4 separate regions of the Homo sapiens genome follow, and all the other regions are linked to region 4. The links are contacts of gene promoters, found by promoter capture Hi-C in human tissues and cell types (Jung and others, 2019). All regions are on one chromosome and are shown on one strand. Each heading gives the region's core, a stretch centred on a gene start or on the middle of the fragment in contact. The rest is flanking DNA. Distances are from core to core; before and after follow the strand shown.

The links. The method cuts DNA at HindIII sites, captures the fragments that hold promoters and counts their contacts. A contact is called where the count stands out against the background at its distance.
Region 1: a contact is called between a fragment that was not itself captured here and the fragment with the promoter of LYSMD4 in region 4, in 1 of the 25 tissues and cell types used here (mesendoderm cells).
Region 2: a fragment that was not itself captured here is called in contact with the fragment with the promoter of LYSMD4 in region 4 in 3 of the 25 tissues and cell types used here (dorsolateral prefrontal cortex, mesendoderm cells and spleen).
Region 3: a contact is called between a fragment that was not itself captured here and the fragment with the promoter of LYSMD4 in region 4, in 1 of the 25 tissues and cell types used here (dorsolateral prefrontal cortex).

What each region holds. Positions count from the first base shown.
Region 1 is chr15:99,156,642-99,159,414 of GRCh38, reverse strand. All of the region lies in intron 11 of TTC23 (tetratricopeptide repeat domain 23), which reads left to right. Among named protein-coding and RNA genes, the nearest start is that of TTC23-AS1, 19 kb to the right of the region's middle. The HindIII fragment of the contact is 3,393 bases long and covers 1-2,773 here.
Region 2 is chr15:99,208,918-99,211,617 of GRCh38, reverse strand. The region is part of intron 8 of TTC23 (tetratricopeptide repeat domain 23); the gene reads left to right. Among named protein-coding and RNA genes, the nearest start is that of TTC23, 39 kb to the left of the region's middle. The HindIII fragment of the contact is 3,671 bases long and covers 1-2,700 here.
Region 3 is chr15:98,863,545-98,866,320 of GRCh38, reverse strand. All of the region lies in intron 2 of IGF1R (insulin like growth factor 1 receptor), which reads right to left. Among named protein-coding and RNA genes, the nearest start is that of MIR4714, 81 kb to the right of the region's middle. The HindIII fragment of the contact is 4,208 bases long and covers 1-2,776 here.
Region 4 is chr15:99,732,004-99,734,735 of GRCh38, reverse strand. It overlaps LYSMD4 (LysM domain containing 4), which reads left to right and starts at 1,299. Exons shown (of 3, transcript NM_001284417.2): 1 at 1,299-1,391; 2 at 2,729-2,732. RefSeq lists silencers at 970-1,699, 1,740-1,849. The HindIII fragment of the contact is 11,257 bases long and covers 1-2,732 here.

The DNA.
Region 1 (2,773 bases), core at 261-2,760, 580 kb after region 4:
TATTTGTAAGTATATATTCATGTGGATATTTAACATCTATCTTGCAACTAGACCGAACCTGTGAAAGCAGAGACCCTCTTGCCTGTGGTGAGGAGTGATGAGCAGAGAGGTGGATGCATGTTTGGCCACAGGCCAGCTGACTGTTCTGACTCCTGTGGGCCATGCATCAGTTCCCCTGTACTGCCTGGCTTCCCACCATAGTGTCTTGCTGAGTCAGCCAATGCTCAGTGTCACTGATGCTATGCCTCACTGCCCTTGCCCAAGTCACCCAGATCAGTGTTGATCAAAAGATGCACCTCACTCTCCTAAGCTGCCCTCGAAGATTTTAGCAAACTGGCTCTTTTCATTCTAGGGCCACTGCCAGCCCATCCAATGCCCTTATCATAATAGAAAAAGCTGCCCCTTCCTCAGGTAGATACCGCCCATGTTGGAGAGGACCATAGGCTGGATTTCAGCCCTCCCCATGCTCCTGCCAGGCACCCTTGTGTGTGGCACCACCTGCCCAGCCAAACATGGCAGTCTCATGCTGTTCTCACCATTTGGTTGCAAACCTCTCACTGTGGGTTCTAGCAGGTGTTGGCCAACAAGGGCCGGGCCCAGGGACAGTCCCGGAGCCAAGAATGGGGCTGTGCTCAGGCCATCCCAGGTGTTCCCACAGCACATGGCCATGGGCACTGTGGAACATGATATTTGAGGGATGAAATGCCTTTTAAGGTAAAATGTAAGTGAAGGTCACTCTGCCACAGGTTAAGCTACTCCGTGAGGGTTTGTCTTCTAGTTGTGCCACTCTTTTGCTCAAGAATCTTCTGTGACTTCCTCAGCCTGGCCACTCACTGGCCCTCAACAGGCCATGTGTTCCTCCTGTGCTCCCAGTGGCCCATACCCTCTTCTCATCCCACCTAAGTCCTCTTTACTCTTCACTCCTCTCTCTTAAGCTTTTCCTAGCAGAGGTTGATACTATCTCAGTTTCCTAGAAACCCGTGCCATTTAACTTCCTTCACATCTCCCCGTTTCCGCAGTCAGGCTGTAGGCGGCATCCAAAGCTTTATCTGGGAAAGGGAGTCTCCCCGGGTCTTCTCCCCATCACTGGCTCCTCTAAGTCTGACAGTGATATTTTCCCACAGAAATATCACCAAACCCAGCACTCTCAGCAGTCCAAGTCCTTGCTCTCAGAACTTGGGAGATGTGATGGGCTTTACCCTCAGGCAAGTCTAGATTTAAATTCTAGTCCCTCATGTACCTCAGTGGGGCCTCACTGCTGAGTTACACAATCACTCTGCCTCTACAGAGATTCCTCTTTCACCTGAGAAATTTATTTCTGCCTCATCAGCACCTGTAATGTGGTTCCCCTACCCCGGCCCTATCCCCTAACTTGTATTATTGCCAACAAAAGGATTAAACGCCCTCCTTGTCCTTCTGTTTGTGGAGCACTTTTGGGACCCCTTTGGGGCTGTGTCATGAGGAAGCTCCCATGGTCCCTGCTGTATTTGCCAGTTAAATTCAGCATCCATGCTCTGCAGCTGATGTCGTGCCTTCATGTGGAAGATCGTGGAAGAATTTCTGGAGAAAGTATGGAGGATTGACATACTTTAACAGGGTTTCCCCCTGCATATTTTGGTGTCTGAAGAAGCTAATATCAGGAAATACTATGTCCTGACCAATTCATAATTTTTATTCCATGTTAGTATAAATAAATTGGATAAACCAAACAAAATGTCATGTCATGTTGGAATGTTTACTTTCAGTTTCCTAAACGATTTCCTATGAGAATAGCCAAGCCTGGAGTGTGTTCAGGATGTTCTATACATAGATAATTTGCCCAGGAATGCTATATTTTCACTTCTGTAAGAATAGCATTGTGGACAGAGGGAGAAAAGCATGGGACTAAAATGTATGAAAATTAGACTGGGCATTGTGGCTCGCGCCTGTAATCCCAGCACTTTGGGATGCCAAGGTGGGTGGATCACTTGAGGTCAGGAGTTCAAGACCAGTCTGGCCAACATGGTGAAACCCTGTCTCTACTAAAAATACAAAAATTAGCTGGGTATGGTGGTGGGCGCCTGCAATCCCAGCTACTTGGGAGGATGAGGCAGGAGAATCGCTTGAACCTGGGAGGCAGAGGTTGCAGAGAGCTGAGATCATGCCACTGCACTCCAGGCTGGTAGACAAAGAGAGACTCTGTCTAAAAAAAAAAAAAAAAAAACCTCCAGATTTCCACCTGCTGTTGTAAAATGGAAGATCTGCTGAGACGGTGAGACGGATTTAAAAAAAAAAAAAAAAAAAGGTATGAAGATCACTGGCTGGATTCAGATCCTAGCACCACCACAGCTGAGCCCTCTGACTCTGAGCAAGTTTCTTAACTGCCGTGCCTGTTTCCTCCTCTGCCTAATGAGGATTAAAATTTTACCCATCTAAAGAAGACAGCAAAAATTAAATGAGACCCACACAATTGTGTGTGTTCAGCACAATTAGTGACATGTGAGGACTGATCCATGTCAGCTTTTGTTCTTACTACTCAACTGAAATGGATTCCTGTAATGGCTGAGTGGGTTTATTTTGCCAGGTGTCCTCTCTCTTCATAGTTTACACCTTTCCTCACATTCGTGTTGTTTCCTGACTCTTGTTCAACCAGAGGTGATATGATTTGGCTGTGTCCCCACCCAAATCTCGTCTTGAATTATAGTTCCTATAATACCCATGTGTCATGGTAGGGACCCTGTGGGAGGTGATTGAACCATGGGTGCGGTTACCCCCATGCCGTTCTTGCGATAGT
Region 2 (2,700 bases), core at 119-2,618, 520 kb after region 4:
ATGATCTAATTGAACATTTTCCTTTCTGCTGTTTCATCCCAGAGGTGATTTTAAATCAGGTACTTATATCACATATTAAGGTTTTGTACTTCAAGACTGCCCTTGGTGTGCAATTTTTTTCTGCATTTTTTCCCTGTGCCTTGGGAAGGCTACATTTTGTTTTCTTTGCTCTCATGAATCATCTAAGCTAAAATCAGACAATTGTATATACTTACTTCTTCTTTTTTTTTGTTTGTTTGTTTTTTGTCTTTGAGACTCTCTGTCACCCAGGCTGGAGTGCAGTGGCGTGATCTTGACTCACTGCAACATCCACCTCCCAGGTTCAAGCGATTCTCCTGCCTCAGCCTCCCAAGTAGCTGGGATTACACATGTGTGCCACCACGCCCAGCTAATTTTTGTATTTTTAGTAGAGACAGTGTTTCACCATGTTGACCAGGCTGGTCTCAAACTCCTGACCTCAAGTGATCCACCTGTTTTGGCCTCCCAAAGTGCTGGGATTACAGGCATGAGCCACTGCACCCAACCTGTATATTCTTATTTCCTTAAGCTTGATTTTGTTTCTTTGTCTTGCTCTCTCTTGATTCATTGAAGTTGTGAGGTTTGGAAAGTTATTCTAACACAAGTTTTCCAAAAGGAAAGGGGATGGGGAAGATTTCTCCCTTAACTCGTACTTACTAGGAAGGAGGAGAAAATAATGGAGAAGTGATGTGGCAAGGGGAACAGAATATGTATCTACCTGCCATCACCTCATTGAGATGATGGGGTTCTACTTAGTTCCATAAGCTGCTCCAGAAATGCTTCCCAGTGGAATTTTTGATACTTCAATAATAACCTTTGCTCTTAGATCCCATAGTCCTCCCAAAATTGGTCCAGTCAGAAATTTCTACATCTAACTTTTGCTTTCTGGACTCAGCATTTAAAAAAATTTTTAGTTCTTACCATCACCTGAGGTTCCTTGATGTCTAAGTTGCATTTTCTCTGCTTCTCTCTTTTGGACATAAAGGCTCTTACAGATGCTCACATGTTCCAAGTCCTGCTTCTCCCTTGCCTGCTCCCTGAGAACATCCTGCTCTTCTCCAGCAGACATGTTTCTCCTGTCAGCTGCTCCTGTGGGACACTATGTGCCTAGAATACTTTTTGCTTACTTAACAAAGAAGGAAATTGCTTTTTTTCTCTGGGACTCTTCCTAATCCTATATTTCTGTGGTTGAAGATATGCTCTTAACTTACACAAGTCTCATTTTTGTTTTTATTATTATTATTTTCAATGTGGGGAAGCCAAAGAAAAACCACATGGCACAGGTTACTCTCATATACTTTATCTGCTTTCTATTTCTTGAATCTCCTAAAGCTTTAATGTTTTAGAGCACTGCATTTCTGTCTTTCCTTTTCTGACATTATACCCTTATAATGTACCTTTTCCTAAATATATGAGAATAATGATTTAAATAATAGAATCATGTTTTAAAATGACATGTTATTAGTATTAATATGTAACATAAATATATAATCATATATCTCTAAATAAATAACACAACATATAATAATATATATCAAATAATAGGCAGGGCACAGTGACTTACACCTGTAATCCCAGAACTTTGGGAGGCCGAAGCAGGCGGACCATTTGAGCCCAGGAGTTCGAGACAGCTTGGGCAACATGGCAAAACCCTGTCTCAAATTAATACAACTAATACATAATTACAAATACAAAAAATTAGCCAGGCGTTGTAGCATACACCTGTAGTCCCAGCTATTCCAGAGGCTGAGGTAGGAGGACTGCTTGAGACCGGGAGGCAGAGGTTGCAGTGAGCAAAGATCATGCCACTGGACTCCAACCTGGGTGACAGAGTGAGACCCCTTCTCAAAAATATAATAATAATGATTTTTTTAAAACCACACTAGCTACCAATTATTGACCACCTTCTGTGTCAGGCTTTTGCTAAGTGCTTTACAGATGTCATCTCCTTTCATTCTTAGTCCTCTCTGTGTAGTGGATACTGTTAGTATTCCCATGTTCAAATGTAGCATCTAAAGCTGAGAGAAGTGAGGTCACTTCCAGGGTCACACAGGCAGGAAGCGATAAAGCTGGAAAGTGGCCCAGCAGAGCCCTGCTTATTCAACGCTAGTGTCCAAGCTCCTGACCATGGCACACATTACATTCACTGATGTAGACTGGAAACCCCACAATGCATTCAACAGAGCAAAGCCTTTACCTGTATGTATCAGGTGATAAAAAGATACCCAGATGTAATTCTTTTCTCATGTTGGCTATGGAAAATCCCATTTGTTATCTTTTGGGATTGGTTTCTCATCAGATTCTGATCAGTGATATTCACACAAAGCCTTTCCTTTATACTGGTGCTCAATATTCTTGCCAAATTCCAGAGTTTTTAAAAGGAAACTCTGTTGCCTTAGTAATACCAGAAATTGCATTTGTTTATTGCTTGTTAAAACGAGTCTCCATCCCTATGAGATCTGAAACTTGTCTGCAATGAGATAGTGTCTCCTCTTGTGCTCTGTAGAATTACTGCGTATAAACTTTCATTCAATAAAATATGCCATGGCTTAAGTTGTGCACCTGCCAAATTAACATACTGCCACATTCTGTTATTCAAAATTTTCTGTCTTTTCATCTGTCTAGTGTATTTCTTAAGCTACCAAGTACATTGTGGATACACTAGATAATAAATCCTCAAAT
Region 3 (2,776 bases), core at 134-2,633, 870 kb after region 4:
CGTGCTGCAGATTTAAATCAGGATCTGCATTTACTGGGTACACGGAAGTGAAGAGAGTACGTGCATCTGTGTGGTGGCGGCGGGGGACAGAGACAGAGGCGTCTTCCTGTGGACGGCAGGAGCGTCCTGGGCTGTTCCGCTGAGATTTGGGCTCTGAGTCATGGGGTGCTCGCGTGGAACAGTAAGACCGAGTTCAACTGAGAACGCCCGCACGTATCCTATGTTAATTTTTCTTTTGCAAACACATTTGCATCTTTTACTTTCATTTTAAACTGCGCCCCGTGCATATGTGCACTACCAACCCATCCGGGTGACGGGCAAGTTGTATCTACTCTGGGAGCCTCCTCCTGCCTGCGAGGCAAGTGGCGACCCCAGAGCGGGAGGTGGGAGCCCCCTTTTCTTACGGTTCTCGGACCGCAGATTTTCCATCAACACTCAATTAGGTTTAAAGATACACTAGGGTGTGTACTGAGATAGTTCAAAATGATTTCCTTCCAACATAAAATGGATCGTGAACCACGGGAATCCTGAGCCCTCCACTTCCCAGCGAGGCAGCATGACTGGTGCTGTGAGACGGATCCACCAGTGATCGAAACCGCGTTCTGCTAGGGAAATTGAGGTTTGGACCACGTGGTCAAGGACAAATGAAAAACCTTTTACGCATTTCCAAATATCAAAATTAAAGAATTAAAAGAGAAAAAAACCCCAAGGAGTTCATATCTTCCCAAACCACAAAGCCACGCCCGGGCCCCACTCCCTTTTCTATCCACTTTAGCACATGCCGAAGCCCAGCGTGGCCTGGGACCACGTGAGGGACGGTGGGCGTGGCCGGGGCGCAGTCACGTGGCCGCTATGCACGCCGAGCCCCACCTCCAGCCAGCCCCTCCTTGGCGGCTGCAGGAGCCCAGCCAGCGATCCAGGCGGCGTTTCCAAACCCAGATCCACGCCTGTACCTGCAATGACTTACAGGATATTTTAGGAATTAGTCCAACATATCCTTTGGGATATCCTTTGGGGTCTGTAAGTAATACTCAAATAGATTTTACCTATCTCGCTGTATTCTGCAGCCAACTTTAAAACATTCATCTGGAAACTGCAAACACAAAATAACCCTTAGTGCATGATATTGTGAATTCTGTGCCCGTCTCCCCTTCAAAAGCTATATAGTATATACTTAGTACACAAACTAACTCAGAATCATGTATCCTACTGTAAGGAGTCCTCTTTGGTCCAGCAAGCATGTGTGATCTGATACCTAGCCTACTGAGATGCCTACGATTCTTTTCTTCACATCTCCCAAATATAACAGCTACATTTCAGACTCCTAAAATTTAATTTGGAATGAGTTACAAATATCAGTGAGGAAAAACGAGGGCCACAGGAAGCTTAGTATAGCTTGCACGCTCTTGTGTGAGGGCCATAATAAAATTACAAACTGGGATGGATTGCATGATATTTAAAAAATTTAGCCATTCGGTTTCATCAAACAGAAGCATGAGATTTGATAAAATGTTACACTTGAGGAGTATAAATCTTTTTTATTTTAAAAATAATAGAAAAGACCACATAGAGTAAAATCAAAGAATACAACAGACAATTTTTTAAAACTTTCTTTTGGCTAAAGAGTTATTTTTAGGCTGAGCGCTGTGGCTCCCGCCTGTAATCACAGCCCTTTGGGAGGCCGACTGGAGAAGATAGCTTGAGGCCAGGAGTTCAAGAGGGACCTGGGCAACACAGACCCCATCTCTACGAAAAATTAAAAAATTAGCTGGGCATGGTGGCACACGCCTGTAGTGGCAGTTACTCAGGAGGCTGAGGTGGGAGCATTAACTTAAACCTGGGAGGTTGAGGCTCCTGCTCCAGTGAGCTATGAGAGCAACACTGCACTCCAGCCTGGGTGACAGGCCAAGATGTCTCAAACAACAAGTGATTTTAGTATTTCAGTGATGGAAAATTCTGAATAATGATTTCTTCATACCAATTAGATTTGGGACTGCTGAAATTTAATTAAATAGGGGGCCTCCTCCAACTTGTTTGCCATGTTGGTAATGTTTGCCTATTTATTTGAGACAGTGTCTTGCTCTGTTGTCCAGGCTGGAGAGCAGGGGCATGATCACACCTCACTGCAGCTTTGACCTCCTGAACTCAGGTGATCCTCCCACCTCAGCCTCCCAAGTAAGTGGGACCACAGGTGCATGCTACCATGACAGGCTAATTTTTTTTTTTGTAGTGATGTGGTTTCCCTATGTTGCCCAAGCTGGTCCCAAACTCCTGGCTCAAGCAATCCTCTTGCCTATGGCCTCCCAAAGTGCTGGGATAACAGGCATGAGGCACCACACCCAGCCACGTTTATTCTAAAAGAGGAAAGCAACACTTTGAACACTTCTTTTAATTACAGCTTTAAAAACTCAGAAATAAAATGTCACATGATAAATTAAATTCATGGTGTTGATGTAAACCTTCCCAACCCATCTCAAGCATCTGGGCTGTGCTTCAGAGTCAGTTCCCCAATAGCATTCTCTTGAGTATCAAAAACGAGAGATTTGCAGCCAGGACCAAAACTATGAGACTATTTTGGCAATTAACATCTCCTGTCATCTTCTTCACCTCCTTTGTAGGGAGAAAGGGCAAGAACATTTCAAATAACATTCATATGTGGGATTTCTTAAGCTTCTGCATATTTTTTCTTCTTCATGTGACTAGTAATTGTCCTCCCAAATAAAAGTGGACTTGCCACTGCTAGTTAAAAAGTTTATGTCCCTCACTGTTAAAAAAT
Region 4 (2,732 bases), core at 50-2,549:
ACACAGTCAAATCCTATTAGTGGGAAAAGGTTTGTGAGATCTTGTTTTAATGTTTGCTTTGTTGTTTAATCTGATTGCAAGTGAGGGTTAAAAACATTTTCAACCTGTTGACCATTTGCATTGTTTGCTGAATTATCTGCTCCTGTCTCTCTGAGGTCTCCCTCAGACCTGCTGAGGTCTTAGCATCTTTCCTATTCATATGAAGTCTCTCTCAGCGAAGGATTTTAATCCTTTGTTGTGTTCAGTTTATTTTCCCTAGGTTATCTGCTTTTTAATTTTGGTTTTCCTTTTTAAGTAGAAGCTCTGAACTTTGTGCCTTAGTGTGTGAGGTTTTTGTTTTTGTTTTTTTTTGAGATGGAGTCTCCCTCTGTTGCCCAGGCTGGAGTGCAGTGGCACGATCTCGGCTCACTGCAACCTCCGCCTCCGGGTTCAAGCAATCCTCTGTCTCAGCCTCCTGAGTAGCTGGGATTACAGGCGCCCGCCACCATGCCCGGCTAACTTTTTTATTTTTTTTTATTTTTATTTTTTTAGTAGAGACGGGGTTTCACCATCTTGGCCAGGCTGGTCTCGAACTCCTGACCTCGTGATCCACCAGCCTCGGCCTCCCAAAGTGCTGGGATTACGGGCGTGAGCCACCGCGCCCGGCCAGTGTGTGAGAATTCTTCCACCACTTTTCATCTTAAGAAATCCTCGGCCACCTGACATTTGATAAACACGACTTAAGTTTTCTTGGTCCCTGTTGTCCGCATCCATGTTTTACACTCGTGGATTTCTGTTTTCTTCTCGGGGTGGGGCAATGCCTCCCCTGGTGCGGCCCTCAAAGGCCCAGGAGCGCAGATCCCGCCGCAGAAAGACCCCTCGCCCATCTGCGCCCAGCCCTTCCCCGCAGGAGGGCTCAGGGGACCCCACGCTACTGGAATCCACCCCGAGTCACAGCTACAGATCATTACCCACAAGTGGGGTCAAAGGCCTCTTTACGGGCGAGAAAGCTGCGGCTCAGCAGAAAGCCAAGCACTTTGGGAGGGAGGAGCTGAGGTGCCTTATTACTCCGAACAGACGCGAAAACAAGCCAGGGCCCGCGCGGGTAGACCTGGTAGGCGGGTGGGCGGGGCGAGGGCCACTTCCGGGGTGTGGAACCCTGTCGAGCCCCGCCCCGAGCCCCGCCCCGAGCCCCGCCCCGGGCCCTGTGGTCCCGGGATGAGCTCTCCGCGCAGCCAGGCTCGCTCCAGTGCCCGCCCAGCGCTGACTTCATTGGCTGCCTCCCCAGTCCCGCCCCCAGGGGGGCCCTGCTGATGTTCGTAGCCAATCCGCAGGCGCGGTGGCAGCTGCGGGTCGCGGGTCGCGGGTCGCGAGTCGCCGGTCGCCGGTCGCGGCGGAGCCTGGGCGCTGAGGTACCGGGGCCTGGACGAGGGGGCCGCGGTCTGGCTAGGGAGCCGCGCGGGCTCATGGCGGTACGGCGACCTGGCCTCGCTCGAGGGTTCGCGGGCGGGCCGCCCCTCCCCGGGCTCCTAGGGGGACGCTCCAGCTGGAGGGGCGGTGACCGCGACTGTCGTGGGCTGGCCCCAGGTGGCTAGGGTTGGGGGTCAGAGGTCAGAGGTTCTGCCCTCTGGAATGTTAGGGCCCCGCCCGTGGAGCCGTGGAGCCCTGGGGCCGGGCCGCTCCCCATTTTCCTGTCAGCTCTTGTTGAGGTGCCCCATCTTTTCGCAGAAGGGACTTGGAGGGAAGCGGGCCTGGAGCTGCTGCCGCCGCCCCTGAGCTCGGACGCGAAGGCTGGCCCCGTCCCCGGGCTGCCGCCGTGGTCCTGCAGGTGACCCTCAACCCCCCGAGGACCGCCGGCCGCCTCCCGCCTCCGGGCAGGCTCAGGAGCGCGCGGAGCGGGGTGTGGGCCTGTGACCCTCGAAGGCGTGGGCGGGGAGTAGGGGGTCGAGCTGGGGCCGCAGGCTGTCCCCGTACGGGCTGCTCCCCTGTGGCTCCGAAGCCACCTTTTTCTGAAGTTGTCAGCCCGCGTGTTTGAGATTTCGTTTCTGGAATCTCACGCGAACAATCTGGAGAGAGGAACAGGGGTCTTGCGGCTTTGGCTGTTGACTCAAGGGGAAAATAAAAACCAGACAATGGGGATGTAATGAATGCAAAGTGACCCGTGAGCAAACTGGACGCTTTTCTCCGGCTGACAGGCATGAGTTCTCCCCGTAGCTTGCCCCACATACTGTGAGTTAAACTGTGTCAAAGTAAGAGCAGTTTAGCCCCACAGTTCTGAGCAAGAGTCCTTAGCGCTGACCTTCTTAGTGAAGATACTTTGCAATGTGTAAAATATTGAATACAAAATTATTGTGCAAAGCTTCTGAGTTGAAGATTCTGAGTGCGCGGAGGCTGGCGGCAGCCCTTACTTGCCATTGCAAGGATCTCAACTTACTACTCTGAGAGCAAAAGTAGTTGTTTCTTTACAGATGTGGGTTTAGGGGAGACAGCTATGGATGAGGAACAGGGGCGGGGTTCGTTTTCTGCACAAAACGTATGCGATTAGAAAAAACAAAGGGTTTTTATTCTGCCTATCTTCTTCCATCTCAGCCAGCATAAGCACATTCTTTTTTTTCTGTTGATGATGTATGCTGAGTATTTGCAGCGATTAGGAAAAGGAATACTCTCTAACAAGACACTTCTCTTTAAACGAGGCGGTGGAGGGATGATTATGTCTTCTGTGGAATTAACCCTCCGGCTTGATTTTCAGTGAA